2 separate regions of the Homo sapiens genome follow, and region 2 is linked to region 1. Evidence: promoter capture Hi-C in human tissues and cell types (Jung and others, 2019). All regions are on one chromosome and are shown on one strand. Each heading gives the region's core, a stretch centred on a gene start or on the middle of the fragment in contact. The rest is flanking DNA. Distances are from core to core; before and after follow the strand shown.

The links. Contacts are between HindIII fragments. The study calls those that stand out against the background at their distance.
Region 2: a fragment that was not itself captured here is called in contact with the fragment with the promoter of THOC7 in region 1 in 3 of the 25 tissues and cell types used here (dorsolateral prefrontal cortex, hippocampus and mesenchymal stem cells).

The regions. Positions count from the first base shown.
Region 1 is chr3:63,861,959-63,866,005 of GRCh38, forward strand. THOC7 (THO complex subunit 7) reads right to left here and starts at 1,847. Exons shown (of 8, transcript NM_025075.4): 1 at 1,814-1,847. The coding sequence starts at 1,832. ATXN7 (ataxin 7) reads left to right here and starts at 1,909. Exons shown (of 13, transcript NM_001377405.1): 1 at 1,909-2,200. RefSeq lists silencers at 1,566-1,785, 2,116-2,355, 2,366-2,585. The HindIII fragment of the contact is 20,525 bases long and covers 1-4,047 here.
Region 2 is chr3:63,368,951-63,372,694 of GRCh38, forward strand. The region is part of intron 2 of SYNPR (synaptoporin); the gene reads left to right. Among named protein-coding and RNA genes, the nearest start is that of SYNPR, 93 kb to the left of the region's middle. The HindIII fragment of the contact is 3,775 bases long and covers 1-3,148 here.

The DNA of each region.
Region 1 (4,047 bases), core at 597-3,096:
TTTTTTTGTATTTGTAGACATGGGGTCTCACTATGTTTTCCAGGCTGGTCTTGAACTTCTGAGCTCAAGAGGTCCGCCTGCCTTGGCCTCCCAAAGTGTTGGGATTACAGGCGTGAGCCACTGTGCCCGGCATGTGTGTGTGTTTTAATGCCAATCTGATTAACACCACACCAGTGTTAAAACTTTTAATGGATTCCTATTGCCCTTAGAGATCTCTGGCTCATAACTTTCTAAATTCTAGCAATACTTGTCAGCTTTGAGTTCTTCCAACATCTTGGGGTCTTTATACAAGTGGCTACCAACCCAGAACACCAGTCCAATATCTATTTATTCTTCAAAAATGGGATTAACTTCGAGGAGGCTTTCTCATTTCCATTGATTGGATAAATAATCTTTGTTACATGTTCCTACAGTTCCCAACCTTGTACTTCCTTGTGGTAATATTTGTCACTCTTAAAACTCATTAGTCAATGTTTCTTTCCCTTCAGACCAAAATTTTGGAGAGGGAAAAGTTCTTGCTTGTTAGTTCTGGGTTGTAATCCCAAAGCCTAGTCCAGGAAGGATAAATATCCACTAAATAAATGAAACTGGAATGAAGCAAAGCTGAAATTCCACATGAAGTTCCTGGGTCTTTAGTAGCCTCCCACCTCCACTACTCTTTATCAGTCTGGAAATTTGGGCCTATCACTGTTCTTCCCATGGCCAGGCCCTTTAATGTGGAGACCCTGGTGGTCTTCAACTCTTAAGAAGTGGCCTCTCCACAGGCATTTACAGTTACCGGTCACCATCTCCTGAAAAACACCCAAGAGCCCTAGATATCCCCTTCCCAGATATCAAAGGACCTCCTTCCTCCCTAACCAGATACCTTGTAGGTTCTCCCTCCAGTTGCCAATCATGCCCCTTCCCCCAAAGTGTCACCTTATTTCCGCTCTCAGTCCATAGACCATCTCCCTTAGACTGTCCACAAACCCAGCCTTTGCCCCTCTAAATTCATCCCAGCTGACAACCACCCTTCCTAACACACACACATACATCTTTTATCGTCCTGATCTACCCTAGACGGTCTCATCACTATACTGGCTCCTCCTTACCCCCGTAAATCTCCCAGGTACACTTCCTGATCACCCTCCGGATACCTCATCCCTATCTATTCCTTTTATAAATAATTCCCTGCTCCTCCTTCTCACCCACAATCCACTCGCAGTTCAAGGCCTCATTGCCATCGACTCCACTGTCTGTGAGTGCTTCCCAATATGCCCCAGGACCCCTCCTGGTGTCACGCTCTGTATCCTGACACCCCTTGTAGACGAGTCCCGAAATTCCCGCCCCGTCCCTGGAGCTCCCACTCCCTCCCAGACCTCCACAAACCTTCCAGGCCCCCAGCCCTAAGCCCGGCACCACTGTCCACCCTTCGCGGCTCCTGGGTCCTCACCGCGCCCCTAGACAAACCCGGACTCCCTCTGGTCCCACCCGCCCTTGCACCGCTTCTAGCCGTCTCGGCCACCCACGTGTGTTCCCAGCCCACCGACCACGCTCCCGGCACACCCTATAGCCCCGCGCTGCCTCCGGGAGAGCGGACGGGGAAAGCCGAGGGTCTCCGAGGGGCGCTCGGGCTCTGGCGAGAGGAGGAAGGACTCAGGGAAGCAGCCGGGGAGGCCCGGGGCTCCGGGGAGAGGTCGGGAAGGCCGAAGCGCTCTGGCGAAGAGGCCGGGGAGGCCGAGGGGTTCCCGGAAGCGGGCCGGGAGGCCAGGGGTCTCAGGGGAGGCCCAGCGGGCCGTGCAGCGGGCGCGTGTGGCGGCGAGCGGGGCCTCACCGTCAGTCACGGCTCCCATGGCGTGCGCGGCGGCGGCGGCGGCGGCGGCGGCGCAAGCTGAGGCGGCGGTTGGCGGCGGCGGAGGTCAAACTCCCACAATGCAGCCGGGTAAACAGCCATGGAGGAGGAGGCGGCGGCGCCCGCGGCCGCCTGCTCCGACGCCTGAGCCGCGCCGCGCCGCGCCGCCGCCGCCGCCGCCGCCGCCGCGGGACCCGCGCTCCCCGCGCTCCCGGTACTCCCCGGGGGCGGCCGCGGCCGGCGCGAGTTGGGGCGAGGCTTGGCGGCCGGCGGCGGCCCCGGCTGCAGCCCGGGCTCCCGCCGCCCCCCTTGCAGCCCCCGCCCGGCCCACGCCCAGAGGCCGCCCCGGAGGCCGCAGCCAGCCGCCAGGTGAGCTCGCCCGGACGCCGCCAGGGCTGCGGGGGTGCGGCGGGAGCTGCGGGCCGCCCGCAGTCGGGGTCCCGGCTTCTTCCCCGGGAAGGTGACTGCGGCCCCGCCGCCCCATCCAGGGTGACGCTGCTAGGGGTGGGCTCGTTTCCCTGGGGGGTGGGGAGGGTGACGGGGACGCCCGGATCCGGCTGAGCCCAGGAGAGGCGGGACTAGGGGTACCGAGGGGGGCGCGTCGCTGGGGGTCCCCGCGAAGTTGGCGCCCACGCGCGCTGGGGCGGGTCTCGAACGCCGGCACTTGCGCGGGGCGCGGCCGGCAATCAAAAAAGGCCCCGGGTTCCAGGTCGCGCGGTTCCGGCCCCTGCGGCCGCCCCCTTCCTTCCTGGGCTCGGCGGGTGCGGGAAAAAGGGTGAAAGAGAAACTTGGCGACCTCCCGGAGGAGTTCGCGAAGCGACCAGGAGCGTGTTGCCATCGTCCTCACCCGGCACCCAATTCCACCACAGAGTCGGGATTTCGTCGGTGATCGTGATGGGGTGCTTTTATTTTTCTCTTTGATTTTCAAAAAATGTCTATGTGACTGTCCCTATCTTAAGGGGAAGTTGAAAGTGGGGGCGGGGGTGCTCAATGAGAAACGTTGCCTTGTGTGTAGTTGTTTGGAGCACACTGCAAATTATATTGGCATCTCTTTCCAAAAGTCACTTTGATTCAACTTCGATAGCTTTCTCGTAAATGGCACGTTTAGGTGGTGAGAGGTGGATGAGGAAACAGGCACCAGTGCAGCTGATTTGACCTCCAGTGGGATAGATACGATTAGCACCAGGATCGTGTCTCATTTTGAACCCAGGTTTGTTATTTTATTCAGCCATACCGTTGTTTTCCAATTTTCCTGTCCCCCAAGTAGATCTTGCATCTTCATATCCGGGATGAAGAAGTTGTGTAGGATAAACTTGGTTGTTTCACTTTCCTTACTAAATTTAGGTACATTCTCCCTGTTTTCCCCCAGTTCTTTCAAAGAGGAGAAGTTGCAGATGCAAATGTATTAAAGTGAAGTGTGTTTAACCTCTAGCAAGAAATATGTACAATTTTAGTCATATTATGTGAGACCAGTGACTTCAATAATACCATTACAGTGCTCTCAAGAATTAGTGCTCAAGAACTTGACTTTTGTCACAAAGACAAAAATTACTTTACATGAAGATTCTGAGATGTGACTTGCTCTCCCCTAAGGTATGAAGTTTCCGACTTTGAAAAAATACTGACCTAAACGCTGGCTGTAGGTGGGCATCATCAGACCCTGTTCATTTCCTTGGTTTTAGGAGACAGGGCACTCTAAGAGAAGAATTGTTTTAAATCTTAAGTACTACAGATTGTAAACTGAAATTGTCAATTGATTGGGGTTCACAATACCAAGTTGCATTTTGGTGGGGATAGTTATTGTTTAGAAAGTAATTGTCGGCCGGGCGCGGTGGCTCACGCCTGTAATCCCAGCACTTTGGGAGGCCGAGGCGGGAGGATCACGAGGTCAAGAGATCGAGACCATCCCGGCTAAAACGGTGAAACCCCGTCTCTACTAAAAAAAAATACAAAAAATTAGCCGGGCGTAGTGGCGGGCGCCTGTAGTCCCAGCTACTTGGGAGGCTGAGGCAGGAGAATGGCGTGAACCCGGGAGGCGGAGCTTGCAGTGAGCCCAGATCCCGCCACTGCACTCCAGCCTGGGCGACAGAGCGAGACTCCATCTCAAAAAAAAAAAAAAAAAAAAAAAAAAAAAAAGAAAGTAATTGTCATGTGGTGAAAAGTTTTTTTTAAGTGTTTCTTAATCTTATCATAATACTGATTTTGAAACAGTGTCA
Region 2 (3,744 bases), core at 11-2,510, 490 kb before region 1:
GAAATAAATCCTCTGTACTCATGGTCTGTGTTATGAGCTAAATCATGTGTCTGCAAAATTCACAATTTGATGTCTTAACCCCCAATATCTCAGAATGTCACTGTATTTAATGGTAAGGTCTTTAAAGAGGAGTTTAAGTTAAAATGAGGCCCTTAGAGTGGGAACTTAATCCAATATGACTGGTGTCCTTTTAGGAAGTGAAAGAGACACCAGGAACATGCATGCACAAAAGGCGGCCATGTGAAGAGGCAACAAGAGGGTGGCTGTCTGCAAGCTAAGGACAGGGACCTCAGGAGAATCCAACTCTGCTGACACTTTGATCCTGGACTCCAGCCTCCAGAACTCTGAGAAAATAAAGTTCTGTTGTCAAAATCATTTTGCCTTGGCAGCCTGAGCAAACTGATAGAGTCTGCAAAATGGAGGAGGGGGTTAAGTGTGGAAAGAGGAGCACCCAGTATAGGGAAAGTAGATCTCAGAGAATATATGTACCTGCAAAAACAACATAAAATCAATTGAAAAGTTAAAACAATTAAATGCTTATGGCCAAATAACATAAGCTATGTGATATTTCTTTATCTTTTACTTTTCTAAAACATTTTAATATTTGTGTTTTCCCACTGGATGCACCAATCCAATGCTTTAAAGTTTGGAACCTGGTGTTCAAGCTTCGTAAGATGGAATCAATTTTCCATTTTGCTGTCTTTGTGTTGTTGTCTCTTAACAAACCACTACCCACTGGTGTGAAGGCGAAGCAGAGAGGCTTTGACATTGCTCTCAAAGCCTTCCATGTCATTATTTTTTATTTAATTGTAATTGGGACAACAATCAATCAGCTAATACCATATTTTGCTTATATTTTTAGAACATTTTTAGACTCCCTTTATGTTTCCTTAACACTGTATGGAATTCTGAGGTTGATTTGAGTTCATGAAGACTAAGAAGAATTTTCTTCCTCACCTAAGGAATCCAAAGATTCTTGGAGCTTCTTCAGGTTCTCGTCTTATCTCATGACCATTTTGAAAAGAGGGTCATGAATGAACCATTTTGAGTTACTTCATTTGAATCTTACTATCTAAAGCAGGGAATAAAATTTAAAACCTGTTTGTGAGGCTCTGTCCTTGTAGATAATCCACATTCTTTCTGATTTTTGATAGTGCACATAATCAGCAAGCAGCTAGACAGCTGGAGGAGATACGTAAATGAGAGAAATTTGTAGATGTCCACATGAAGTGGACATGTTAATCCCCCTTTATCCTCTAAAAGCTTCCCTAGGGGAGGCAGTTCTCTGCCCTGTGGAAGATGTTTTTTTCCAAAGCTAGCCCAAGATGGGAACAATGATATTTTAAACTTGGCAAGATTTCATTTAGAAAATCAGGCCCTTGAGACTGCTCTGAAAGGATTGACTCTGCTCCCATCTGGGATTTATTTAATCCTTTCATTGTTTCTTAGGTGAGTTTTCAAAAAACACATTGACAAGCTGTCTAGTGTGCCAATAAAGAATCTATTGGATACTTCCTCTTAATAGAACTTCATAATCTTACTTCTGTAGATGTCTGAAAAGTGGAATTTGTACTCGCCCAAAAAATTATGCTGAAACTTAACTGTGGTAATTGTATACTGTGGTGTTTAAAATGGACAAATACCACATGGCCTTTTGTCTATGATTTGTGGGCATAGCTGGAAATTTTTAGTCTGGGGGCATAATTTCTAGATGGATCTCTCAGCACTTTGTGGGTTACAAAATAATATCTTTTACTCTTCTGCAATTTTGAGGTTGTTTAGATATCCAGACCCGCTGGAGACAGTAAGGAGTAATTTTATATTTTATGCTATCAGGTTAAACTTTGAATTCATAGGTGAGAACCTTGTAAAAATTTAGAGTACTGAGTTAGAGAAAGACCCCTATATAAACACAGTGGATTCATAAACCCAGAAAATATCCTCTAATCCCTATTGTTGAATTAGAATTTAAATATGGGGGAGAGCCAAGATGGCTGACTAGAAGGAGCTAGCGTGCACTGCTCTCACGGACAGAAGAAACAGTGGTGAGTAAACCCTAGACCTTTAACTGGAACATTCAGGTGGACACATTGCGATTCATCAAGGAAACAACCCACGAATGAAAGAGAGGAATGAGACAAGACAACCACCCACCTGGGATGGCATAGAGCCAGAGGAGGCCCCCATACCTCGGAAAAATGATGAGTGAGTGACAGTCCCCAGGAACCCACACTTCTACCATGGACTTTTGCAACCCTGGGCTCAGGAGATCCCCCTGTGAGCCCACCCCACAGGGGCCTCCAGACTGACACCGAGAGCTCTGTGGAGTCTGGTAAGAGAAGTCACTCATGCACACATGGAGTCCTAGGAGCCTTGGATCCCCAGGCATCCTGGCATTAGCCACTGCAGCTCTGGCAGTGGGGGAGGTCAGGCTCCCTTGCACGTCTCCGGGAAAGAGGCAAATTTCATGAGGCTGAGCAGTGATGAACTTCAGGTTTCACCTTGCAGGATAAGGCCCACTGGCCTGGGACTCCAGCCACCTACTGCCTGGGCTTTCAGACCAGTAGCAGCTCTGACTTCCCTGGGACGGAGCTCCCAGAGGGAGATGCAAGCCACTATTTTTGCTGCCCTGCAGCCCTAATTGCTGCTGCCCTCAGGTTCTAGAAGGTGCGTGGTGATTTGAGACTGATACAGCTCCCCAGTGCAGCACAGCTGCCCCACAGAGAAGTGGCCAGACTCTTTTCCACCTGAGTCCTCGTTCCAACTTCTCCTCACTGAGTGGGACCCTGGACCTCGGACTCTAGCACAACCACTCTGGCCCCACCTCAACACTTTAGTCGGAGGCGGTTCTACATTTCACTGAGGAGGAAATCACAGAGACAACCCACAGCCCGTCTGCCACTGGAACTGCAGTAGTACCACCCTAACCACCCTCAGGATGGGGAAGGAACAAAGGACCTGGTTGCTATGCTGGCATTTCCCACACACAACAGCCACCATGCAGAGAGGAGCCCAGTCTCTCTTCCCTGCAAGCCCTCAATCCCCACTCTTCACCAGACTGAGCCCCCGGCTTGGGACCACAGAACAGCCATCCCATGCATGGCTGAGTATATCCACAGGTAGAGGCTCTATGTTTCCCTGGAAAAGGGATCTTAGAGTGACCAACAGCCCCTCTGCCACTGCCACGACAGTGGTTCTGCCACTGCTGCCCTCAGTCTGAGAAAAAACAAAAACACATAAAAACAAAGACTATGTCCAGCATGACACAGTCACCATAGACAAGAGTCCAGTCACTCCTCCCTGTGAGCCTTCCACCCCCTGCTTCTCACCAAGTGAAGGCCCCAGCTTGAGCCAGCAGCACAGCCACCCCATCCCTGGCTGAACATTTCCAGTAGCAATGGCTCTGTGTATCTCTGAGAGGGAGCTCCCAGAGGCAACTGAAAGCCCCTCTGCCACTGCCACTGCAGCGATACTGCCTTTGCTGCCCCTGGATTGGGGAAGTAGCAAAGACACTGGGTGCTTTAACCATGACTCCAGCAAGCTGCAGTTGTCCTAAGGAGAGAGGCCAGTCTGTTTCCCCCATCCCCCTTTCCCCCACAACCCTCACTGGTCACAAGGCACAGCTGCCCCTGGGTTGGGCCCACAGCACAGCAGTTCCACCCCAGGCTGATCACACTGATTAATAGCAGCTCTGAATCTCTCTGGGATAGAGCCCCATGAGATAGGTGAAAAGTCCTCTGCCAC